Linked DNA regions of Homo sapiens: all the other regions are linked to region 2. The links are contacts of gene promoters, found by promoter capture Hi-C in human tissues and cell types (Jung and others, 2019). All regions are on one chromosome and are shown on one strand. Each heading gives the region's core, a stretch centred on a gene start or on the middle of the fragment in contact. The rest is flanking DNA. Distances are from core to core; before and after follow the strand shown. Region 1 has its middle 6.4 kb from the start of CTSG. Region 2 holds the start of CMA1 (chymase 1). Region 3 overlaps LOC101927045 (a long non-coding RNA gene).

Evidence for each region. Contacts are between HindIII fragments. The study calls those that stand out against the background at their distance.
Region 1: a fragment that was not itself captured here is called in contact with the fragment with the promoter of CMA1 in region 2 in 6 of the 25 tissues and cell types used here (H1 embryonic stem cells, aorta, heart right ventricle and 3 more).
Region 3: a contact is called between a fragment that was not itself captured here and the fragment with the promoter of CMA1 in region 2, in 1 of the 25 tissues and cell types used here (bladder).

What each region holds. Positions count from the first base shown.
Region 1 is chr14:24,567,977-24,571,812 of GRCh38, reverse strand. No RefSeq gene overlaps it. Among named protein-coding and RNA genes, the nearest start is that of CTSG, 6.4 kb to the left of the region's middle. The HindIII fragment of the contact is 6,762 bases long and covers 1-3,836 here.
Region 2 is chr14:24,506,207-24,510,311 of GRCh38, reverse strand. It overlaps CMA1 (chymase 1), which reads left to right and starts at 2,047. Exons shown (of 5, transcript NM_001836.5): 1 at 2,047-2,134; 2 at 2,806-2,956; 3 at 3,708-3,843; 4 at 4,030-4,105. The coding sequence starts at 2,077. RefSeq lists an enhancer at 2,239-3,438. The HindIII fragment of the contact is 12,986 bases long and covers 1-4,105 here.
Region 3 is chr14:24,470,598-24,474,336 of GRCh38, reverse strand. All of the region lies in intron 2 of LOC101927045 (a long non-coding RNA gene), which reads right to left. Among named protein-coding and RNA genes, the nearest start is that of SDR39U1, 30 kb to the right of the region's middle. The HindIII fragment of the contact is 3,573 bases long and covers 432-3,739 here.

The sequences.
Region 1 (3,836 bases), core at 824-3,323, 61 kb before region 2:
AACAGACATTTTATCAAATCCAACAGGCTATATACAGAAATGCTTTGATGAATTTGACCATTATTTTATGTGTATCTCTTATCAGAAAGTTATTTGTCTAATATTCAGTGTAAGCCATTTATCAACAAAATTTTAATCAATAATACATCTTTAACAATCCTCAGTCATTCTCTCTGTATTTACTAACTGCCTACCCATAAGAATTATCTATTACTGGCATGCTCTGGGGGATAACAGTCTCATTATTAAATGTTTGCACTGACAAATGGAAAGAATACTTGCTAGTAGAAAAGTCCCCCATTCAGCCCTTCCTCCCTGTGGCATTTACTTAGGGCCTCAGAGCACTGCCCAGTCTCAGGACTCAGTCCCCAGGAAGCCCCGAGGGCATTCATCTCATCTTCAGGTCTTTCTCTGCCAGTCAGCACTTCCAAGGCAGCTCTTTGTCTCTGCTGCCCTACTGAAAAGGTCTCTACAGACCCCAGGGTACTCACCTCCAGAAGGTGACCATCCCAGAAGCCAGATCCACCACTTCTAACAAATCTGCACTCTTCCCTGTTGAGTAAACCTCATCAGCAGAACTTTGGCAAGAAAGCATTTTGCACAATGAAAACCAGTGCAAAAGAACACAATTCTTTCTTTTTCCACGTGCAGACTTTGTGCGTTAGAAGCCTTATCAACTTGAATGGAAAGTCATAAAATTATGGTAAGCTCAGGCACAGAAACCTCACTGGGAACTTCTCCCCCAACCCAACAGCTAAGGCAAAAAGGAGAAGGATTGGGTCAGGTGATGATATTTCAGAAAGAGAAAGTCTTTCTCCTCTTTCTCTCTCTCTCTCTCTCACACACACACACACACACACACACACACACACGCACCCATTCACCCACACTAAGCCATTTTCCTTTTCAAACAACCAAAGGCCAGAGAAGGGGGAGCAGAGAAGAAAGAGTCTGTGTAGATGGAAAATCTGAAGATTCTGAGTTGAGCTCTGCCTCTTCCCGTTCCATGTGGAGCCTTCAGAGGCCCTACCTGCAAGGCCAGGACTGTGTCTGACATGTACATGTAAATGAGAAACCTCTCTCTACTCCAGAATCTCAAGTGTTGCTCCACAAGATTCTGCAGTTGCCTGAAACTGCTACTCAACAGTACAAAGAAGGTCATGGATGACTAGATTCATCAGGGATATTGGTCTGTAGTTTTCTTTTTTGTTGTATCTTTGTCTAGTTTTGGTATCAGGGTGACACTGGCCTCATCGAATGAGTTAGGAAGAATTCCCTACTCCTTGATTTTTTGGTATAGTTTCAGGAAGATTTGTATTAGTTCTTTGTTTGGTAGAATTCAGCTGGTCTTGGGTTTTTTTTGCTGGAATATTTTTATTACTAATTTAATCTCACTACTCACTATTGATCTGTTCAGGAGTTTTATTTCTTCCTGGTTCAATCTCAGGAGATGTTTTCAGTAATTTATCCATTTCCTCTAGGTCTTCTAGTTTGTAAGTATATAATTGTTCATAATAGTCTCTGATGATCTTTGTATTTCTGTGGCATGTTTTAATGTCTCTTTTTCATTTCTGATTGTGTTTATTTGGATTTTCTCTTCTTGGTAAGTCTAGCTAGTGGTTTGTCAATATTGTTTATCTTTTTGAAGAACCAATTTTTTGTTTCATTGGTCCTCTGTAAACTTTTGTTGGTCTCTATTACATTTAGTTCTCCTCTGATCTTTGTTATTTCTGTTATTCTTTTTAATTCTGGGTTTGGTTTGTTCTTGCTTTTCTAGTTCCTTGTCAAACTAGCATTTCTAGTTTGCATTGTTAGGTTGCTTATTTTCAATATTTCTACTTTTTGATGTAGGTATTTAATGCTATAAAATTCCTTCTTAGCACTGCTTTTCCTGTATCCCACAGGTTTTAGTATATAGCATTTTTATTTTCATGTGTTTCAAAAAAAAATTAATTTCTGTGTTAACTTCTTTCTTGACCCAGTGATTGTTCAGAAGCATGTTGTTTAATTCCCATGTATTTTTATGGTTTCCAAAGTTCCTCTGGGTATTGATTTCTACCTTTATTTCACAGTGGTCTGAGAAGATACTTGAGGTAATTTCAATTGTTTAAAATTTGTTAAGACTTGTTTTATAACCTAACGTGGTTTATCTTGAAGAATATTCCATATGCTGATGAAAAGAATGTATATTTTGTAGTTGTTGCATAGAATGTTCTGTATAAGTCCATTTAGTCTAAAGTCCAATTTAAGTCCAATGTTTCTTTGTTAATTTTTTGTCTTGATGATCTATCTAGTCCTGTGAGTGGGATGTTGAAGCTCCCGCTATTATTGTATTGCCACCTCTTTAGGTCTAGTAATATTTGTTTTATTAATTTGGGTGCTCCAATGTTGAATGCATATACATTTAGGACTGCTATATCCTCTTGCTGAATTGATCCCTTTATCATTATATGATGACCTTCTTTGTCTTTTTTCCTGCTTTTTATTTAAAGTCTGTTTTATCTGATACAATATATCTACTTCTGCTAACTTTTGGTTTCCTTTTGTGTAGAATATCTATTTCCACCTCTTTGCTTTGAGTCTATGTGTGTCTTTATTGGTAAGATGAGTTTTGTATGTAGAATATAGTTCAGTCATGTTTTTAATGCATTCTGCCAATCTATATCTTTTTTTTTTTTTTTTTTTTGAGACGGAGTCTCGCTCTGTCGCCCAGGCTGGAGTGCAGTGGCGGGATCTCGGCTCACTGCAAGCTCCGCCTCCCGGGTTCATGCCATTCTCCTGCCTCAGCCTCCCAAGTAGCTGAGACTACAGGCGCCCGCCACTACGCCCGGCTAATTTTTTGTATTTTTAGTAGAGACGGGGTTTCACTGTTTTAGCCGGGATGGTCTCGATCTCCTGACCTCGTGATCCGCCCGCCTCGGCCTCCCAAAGTGCTGGGATTACAGGCGTGAGCCACCGCGCCCGGCCCAATCTATATCTTTTAAGTGGAGCATTTAGTCCATTTACATTCAAGGTTGATATTGATATGTAAAGCTTTATTCCTGTCACTGTTAATTGTTTTCAAGTTGTTTTATAAATTATTTCTTTCTTTTTTTTTTCTCTGTGTTTTTCTCTTTGTGGTTTGATGAAATTCTGTCATGTTGCCATTTGATCCTTTTCTCTTCCTCCTTTGTGTGATTGTTTTATAAGACCTATGAGTTTTATATTTTCATTTGTTTCTGTGATGGTGAATATCAACCTTCTGTTTCCATGTTTAAGACCCCTTTGAGCATTTCCTTTAGGGCTGGTATAGTGGTGACAATTTCCCTCAGTGTTTGCTTCTCTGGGAAAAACTTTATTTCTCCTTCATTTATGAAGCTTATTCTGGCAGAAAATAAAAATCTAGACTGACAATTTTTTCCTTTCAGTACTTTGAATATACCATATCATTCTCTTCTCCTGTGTAAGGTATCTGCTGAAAAGTCTGCTGTTAGTTCAATAAGGTTTCCTTTACAGGTGACTAGATGCTTTTCTCTTGCTAATTTTAAAATTCTTTCTTCTACCTTGACTTTAGACATTCTGAATATAATATGCCATGGTGAAATCCTTTTTGCAATGTATTTTCATGGAGATTGCTAGGCCTCCTATACCTGGGTGTCTAACTTTCTTGCTAGACTTGGGAAGTTTTCATAGATTACCTCCTTAAACAGGGTTTCTAAACTCTGATCTCTTTTCCTCCTTGGGAACACCAATAATTTTTAAGTTTGTTTGCTTTATATAGTCCCAAACATCTGCTTTGTTCATTATTTTTTATTCTTTTTTCCTTATTTTTGTCTGGCTGGATTATTTCAAAAGAC
Region 2 (4,105 bases), core at 798-3,297:
TATAAAATAACCAAAGGGGGAAGAAGAAAGAGAAAAAGGAAATCTCTTAAAATACACAGGTATACATATGACAAAGCAAAGAAGGAAATGTGAGCAGATAGCGCAGTCCTCGTTTCTGAAATTGGTCCCCTGACTGGGGCTATACCTATTCCATTTCCTCACCCTCAGCCAGGCAGGTGGAGCAAAACTTAAGTCTTGGTGGATCTGAATCTTGATGCTGTGGAGCTGTCTTACTAGCCCCAGACTACCTGCCTCTCAATTTCTAATTATATCAGTGAAAGCAAACAGCTTTGATTTGTTTAAGCCTCTGATTTTTTGGTCTAACTGATGTAAGACCACAAGACAAGAGTTCTCCAGCTCCGGATTCTCTTCTGTTCTGTTAATGGTGAAATGCCCAGAGAAGAGTTGCCAACTTTGGCAAATAAAAAATACAGGATTCCAGTTAAATTCAAATTTTAGATAAACAACAATTTTTTAGTATTAGTGTGTCCCATTCAATATTTGGACATACTTAACTAAAAAATGATTTGTTGTTCATCTGAAATACAAATTTAACTGGGCATTCTGAATATTCTCTGGCAACCCCCGAGAGAGTGAAGAAAGTGGTACAAGGACACTTAAGAAGACCAGATTTGAAAAGACATTACGGATGTGTTTAAATGTCTTATTCTAGAGAGAGTTAGAGCTGTAGGTAGAACTTGGGAAATTAAGTTAAAAGCAACAGAGGACCTGGCCAATATATACTAAGGAGTGGATCACTCTGGTCACAAGCCCAACCTGAGACCAAGGGCATAGTGAGATGATTTGGGAAAGGCACTTATACACTACTCATCCCCGTCTTTGAACTAAATGCCTTATAAATCTCCAAGAGAAATGACAGTCCACCATGTGGACTGCTTTCTGTAAGTCCAGGGAAAATAAAAGCTATGTGCTTGAAACCCACTTCTGATATTATAAGGTGTGTGATCTTTGTCATGTTAATGGGTCTGAGTATCAATTCTACAATTGTAAAGTGACAGTAATGGTGTGTCCCCAGGTTGTTGTGGAAAGCTTGATTCTTAATGCAACAGTAGGAAACCCCAACCTCTCTGGAGCAAACACCCTTCTACATCTTTACTTCCCCTGCACATTGGCAGGACTCTATTCCTCTATTTCTCTCTAGTGCTAGAGCAGAAAGGGACCTTGATTTGATATCAGGAAAATCTATTTCTGAACCATAAGCTATGATAGCTGATTTAAAAAATTGACTATCATGACATGATAATGATCATAATGGTAATACATATTGATAGGGTTGCCGTGAAAGTAATAATATATCTAAGAGTTGTGACAATATATGATACACCTAGACTCTCAGAAAATGCTAATTCCAATCCCAATTGCTCTTTGCATAAAGTTCTGTCCTAGGGTCTGTTCTTTTCCCACATCTACCCTCCTTGGATCTCTCTTCTGTCAAAAACATGTGGTTCAGAGGAGGAGAGAGATCCAGGTCAATGTTTTTCAAATTACAAGGAATTATCATTTAAATGGGGTTGTTGCTCAAGTTTTGACGTGTAGTGGAATGGAGTGGAGTGGAGTGGAATGGAAACTAACAGAAAACACTGCACATGGTTAAGATAAAGATTGTTTCCTGAAACCTTTAATTTGTGCTTACATACTCACACATACATATGTGCATGCACTGGGACTCTGCAATATGCATTTCTGACTATGGAACATAGCCATAAAAGTCTTTGCACTGAACGTTCAGTGGGCCTTTCACAAGCTGCCCTAATTGGGAAAGAAAAACATGGTCCCTCCATTTCCTGCCCCCAACTCCAGAAAAGTCACCATAGTTGAGGGTACATCTGAGAAGCCAGCACTTGGGAGTTCAGGGCTCAAGTTCCTTTCTAGAAAAACACTGGGTGATTCTAGGGGAACTTCTGATCAGAAACAGCCAATTCAGAGTGAGAGAAGAAAACGTGACCATGCAGTTCCTGTGGTTACCAGCCTTGCCCCTCTCTTGCCTTCTGGGAGTTATAAAACCCAAGACTGGAAAGGAAAACCAGCATTTGCTCAGGCAGCCTCTCTGGGAAGATGCTGCTTCTTCCTCTCCCCCTGCTGCTCTTTCTCTTGTGCTCCAGAGCTGAAGCTGGTGAGTATCAGGGTTCTTCCCTCTGAAATCTGCAGTATCAGCTCCTGAAACAAAGATGTTTAGTCTGAAAATAGCTGACTCCTAAACAGGGTTCCAAGATCTCTCTTCAAGAGTCCCAGAGGGAAATTTCCACTTGGGATGTGTGCCACCCCACCCCCACCCCCACCCACTGCCATTCTCTACAGCCTAGGACAGCCCCCAGGAACAAGGAATTTCACCTCAATTGTAGAAAAGCCCAGAGCAAGTGGAAGGAAAAGGGGTATCCCCAGGAAAACAGACATGTCCTCTTAATCTTCTGAGCATCAGGGCTACCCATTACTTTGTGACTTTCTCACTCTGTGACCATGCTCAAGAGCTATGGAGAAATCTAAAACAGGAACCTGGACAGTGGGTCCTACACAGAGACAGAGGAGGGTGGGCCAGGGCAAGGTGGGAGTGGGAGAAGTCTGAGATGAAAACATCAGAATGGAGCAGAGGCAAGAATGAGATTTCACCTGGGAGGTTATGGGTGGGGAAAGATACGAAATACAGGAGACAGGAGAGGGAAGATGGGCGGAACACAGGGTGAGAATGAGATTCCAGGGAAGCCTAGCTCAGCTTTAACCCAATTTGTCCATTCATTGGAGAGAGTATCTATGGCCGTGTTCAAACCCTGGGGTGCTCTGTTCCAGGGGAGATCATCGGGGGCACAGAATGCAAGCCACATTCCCGCCCCTACATGGCCTACCTGGAAATTGTAACTTCCAACGGTCCCTCAAAATTTTGTGGTGGTTTCCTTATAAGACGGAACTTTGTGCTGACGGCTGCTCATTGTGCAGGAAGGTGAGACAACAGGGTCTATTTATCTCCAAATGGGAGATGAACAACCAGAGTAGCATCCAGGAATACACCTGCACTGGGGACTGAAGAGGGGGTCCTGGGTCTTGTCAACTTTCAGGAGAGGGAAGACTTGGGCTGAAAGACTTTAGTCTGTGTTTGAATAGTTCCTTGAGCCTCAGTCACTGTGAGCTAAGCTCCCCTTCGGAGGAAAAGGAGGTCCTGTCCAAGGTCCCTCTTGTTGCAGTAGCACCCCTCACCCCTACCCAACTCAAGACACACGGCTCACTTTTCAGGGCCCCACCCAGTCTCAGGGCCACTTCCTCTATGGCCTTTTCAAGAACACTGGCCTCTAGTTCTCAGGGTCCTGAACCCATCATTTTATGGGAGGCAGAGAACAGGGTCTACATGAGACCCCCACTTTCCCGTTTAACTGATATCTCCTGCTTCAGGGGCTGGCCCTCATGCAGGGTTCCCTGAATTAGGAAGTGTGAACCCTGTCCCCTGAGTCCTCCCTGGCCTGTTCAGTCCCCAGCAATTCCAGGGGTCGTAGAAATTGTGTCTGTTTCCTGAGAAAGCTCTTTCATGAGTTAAGCCTGAGCCCTCAAATGCCACAAGTGGCCCATGAAAAGGGAGATGGGTAGAGTCCGGCGACCCAGTGACAGAGTTTAGTCCTCTTTTCTCAGAATGAGCTCACCTCAGAAGAAACCCCAAGCCATCACTGTCGCTCCTTTTCCTTCCTTCTTCCTCACAACAGGTCTATAACAGTCACCCTTGGAGCCCATAACATAACAGAGGAAGAAGACACATGGCAGAAGCTTGAGGTTATAAAGCAATTCCGTCATCCAAAATATAACACTTCTACTCTTCACCACGATATCATGTTACTAAAGGTGACAACACCTCTCTTCTCCCTTTCCACTTCCCATTCTCCTAAGCTTCTCCTTCAGGTCCTCATTGCCCTGAATTTTTCTTAGGACTTGGCTATAACATGAAGCTACTCACCCTGTCCCTCCCTGATCACCTCCAACTGTCCAGAGCCCATTTCGAGGACTGACAGTCCTTCATTCCCTTCACAGTTGAAGGAGAAAGCCAGCCTGACCCTGGCTGTGGGGACACTCCCCTTCCCATCCCAATTCAACTTTGTCCCACCTG
Region 3 (3,739 bases), core at 969-3,468, 36 kb after region 2:
AAACCTTGGCAGTGAGTGTTACAGCTCTTAAGGTGGCGCATCTGGAGTTGTTCGTTCTTCCTGTCCCGAGTTGTTCATTCCTCCTGGTGGGTTCATGGTCTTGCTGGCCTCCGGAGTGAAGCTGCAGACCTTCGCAGTGAGTGTTACAGCCCATAAAGGCAGTGCAAACCCGAAGAGTGAGCAGCAGCAAGATTTATTGCAAAGAGCAAAAGAACAAAGCTTCCACGGTGTGGAAGGGGACCCGAGCAGGTTGCCACTGCTGGCTGGGGCGGCCTGCTTTTATTCCCTTATCTGGCCCCACCCATATCCTGCCGATTGGTCCATTTTACAGAGAGCTGATTTGTCTGATTTACAGACAGCTGATTGGTCTGTTTTGACAGGGTGCTGATTGGTGCGTTTACAATCCCTGAGCCAGACATAAACGTTCTCCAAGTCCCCATCCGATTAGCTAGATACAGAGTGCTGATTGGTGCATTTATAAACCTTGAGCTGGACACAGGGTGCTGACTGGTGAGCTTACAAACCTTGAGCTAGACACAGAGTGCTGACTGGTGCATTTACAATCCTTTAGCTAGACATAAAAGTTCTCCAAGTCCCCACCAGATTAGCTAGACACAGAGCACTGATTGGTGCATTTACAAAGCTTGAGCTAGACACAGGGTGCTGATTGGTGTGTTTACAAACCTTGAGCTAGACATAGAGTGCTGATTGGTGTATTTACAATCCCTTAGCTAGACATAAAGGTTCTCCAAGTCCCCACTAGACTCAGGAGCCCAGCTGGCTTCACCTAGTGGATCCTACACCAGGACCTTTCAGGCAGAGCTGCCCGCCAGTCCCGCATGCGCCCACACTCCTCAGCCCTTGGGCAGTTGATGGGACCAGGAGCCCTGGAGCAGGGGGCAGTGCTTGTCGAGGAGGCTCAGGCTGCGCAGGAGCCCAGGGCAGTGGGGAGGCTTGGGCATGGCGGGCTGCAGGTTCCGAGCCCTGCCCCACGGAGAGGCAGCTGAGGCCTGGCAAGAATTCAAGTGCAGCACCTGCCAGCTGGCACTGCTAGAGAACCCGGTGCACCCTCCCCAGCTGCTGGCCAGGTGCTAAGCCCTAGTGCGGGCTGCCGATCCCACGCCCACCCGGAACTCACACTGGCCCCCGAGTGCCGCGCCCAGCCCCGGTTCCCACCTGCGCCTCTCCCTCCACACCTCCCCGCAAGCAAAGGGAGCCGGCTCCAGCCTCAGCCAGCCGAGAGAGGGGCTCCCACAGTGCAGCGGCAGAATAAAGGGCTCCTCAAGCATGGCCAGAGTGGGCGCCAAGGCCAAGGCACCGCCAAGAGTGAGCAAGGGCTGCCAGGGCTGCCAGCACGCTGTCACCTCTCACTAATACTAGGGAACCCAAAATATGTTGTGGTCCATCTGTTAGAGTTGCACTTGAAAGGCACCAAATGATAAAGGAAGCCCTATCCTAAATCTATCCCACAGTGGGCCAGTTGGGTCCTTGAACCTACCCTTTGGTAAATACCCTGGTCCCTGAGTGCATACTTTTAATGTATAGGCAGCACTTAAATGCTGATGGAACTCTCATGATTCCCTGACTTATAAAATAAGAGGCATTACGGTAAAAAAGGCTTTAGTTGTCCACAACCTAGCCAAGATGGCAAATCAGAAACAATACAACATTCCAGGTAAAATGGCAGAATTTGGTGGTAGCCTCAAAGATTTAAATGATACAGAAATGGTCACCTGGAAAACCAAATACACCCTAGCAGATGATAGCAGACTACTCTACCAAGTGGTGGAGCAGCGGTTACTGCAGTTTTGTATGTTGTGTCTTCATTAGAATAGAGCAACACAGCCTCTAGCATTTGATATGTGACTTTTGATAAGGCAAATGTGTTCTTTTAGTTCCCGTCAGGAGGAAGGATCAGAACAGTTTGCATTCACCCAGTATGGAAAGCAGTCTCATCTCAGCACTATATTAAACCTCCGGTTCTCTCTCAACACAGTCCAAAGAGACCTTTGCATCTGGACATTTCACAGATCATCAGATGGATCCGCTATATTGACGACATGGACTACAAAGAGGCACAGTGCCCGGCAGGCCTCTTTGGATTTTGCACATAGCATATAACACTCTTGGGAATACTGCTCCAGCCCATTTAATGGGTTTTCTCAGAAGGCTGCTGTCAGCTTTTCAGAGGATCTCCCAAAACAAGAGAGTCCTGCGGCATGTTCATCCTGCTGTATGAGCAGCCCTGGCCCGTAATCATATGACCCAGCAGATTCCATGGGTGCTAAAGGTAGCCATGACAGATAAGGGTGGGCACCTCTGAAATGACTGACAAGCCCTCATAAGTGAATTATAGCACAGACCTCTAGGGTTCCATAGTAAGGTTATGCCATATGTAGCAGAGAACTATTTACCATATGAAAAGTAGTTCCCAGGGTGCTACTGGGCCCTAGCAGACACTGAATATCTGACCATGGGACATAAGGGTGACTGTGTGATCACAGCTGTCCATCATGAGCTGAATCATATCAGAACCACCAAGTCATAGTATAAGGCAAGCACTCCTAGGGACCAACGTGGTAAATTTGGCTTTTCTGTCCCTACAATTTTAGGTCCCACTTAATAAAGGTCCTCATTTCCAAGCACAGAGTGGGGGATTTGCTTTCACCAGGGCCAGGGATACAATAAGGGTTTCACTAAAAAATAAAGTTACGGCTGCCAACTGTCATGTCAAGCTTCTTTTGACAGTAGATCTCTAGGCAACAGTGAAGTTACTAAATGACCCTGGTTATCATGAAGAGATCAAGTTGTTGCCACAAAACAATGTAATTGTGGCCCAGAAAGCAGTACAAGACACTTCTTGATGCTTCTACCCAGTGATAACTATAACACACAATTGCAGAAATCCTGCCTTAACAATGGCACGGTAACCTTAGAGATAAAGATCCGATTTGCCTTATTGAATAAACAACCTAAACCATCAGAAGTGCTTGCCAGGGAGTTAGGGTAGGGAATGCAGAAAAGGTGCTAAAGGAAGATAATGACTGTTAATAATGACCTCAGGACTCACTGTAAAAGTATGGACTGTAGCGAATGGAAGAAAATTTTTGCAGTCTACCCATCTGACAAAGAGCTAATATCCAGAATCTACAAAGAACTTAAACAAATTTACAAGAAAAAAACAACCCCATCAAAAAGTGGGCAAAGGATATGAACAGACACTTCTCAAAAGAAGACATTTATGCAGCCAACAGACACATGAAAAAACGCTCATCATCACTGGTCATCAGAAAAATGCAAATCAAAACCACAATGAGATACCATCTCACACCAGTTAGAAAGGCGATCATTAAAAAGTCAGGAAACAACAGATGCTGGAGAGGATGTGGAGAAATAGGAACGCTTTTACACTCTTGGTGGGAGTGGAAACTAGTTCAACCATTGTGGAAGGGAGTGTGGTGATTCCTCATGGATCTAGAACTAGAAATACCATTTGACCCAGCCATCCCATTACTGGGTATATACCCAAAGGATTATAAATCATGCTAGTATAAAGACACATGCACACTTATGTTTATTTCAGCACTATTCACAATAGCAAACACTTGGAACAAACCCAAATGTCAATCAATGATAGACTGGATTAAGAAAATGTGGCACATATACATCATGGAATACTATACAGTCATAAAAAAGGATGAGTCCATGTTCTTTGTAGGGACATGGATGAAGCTGGAAA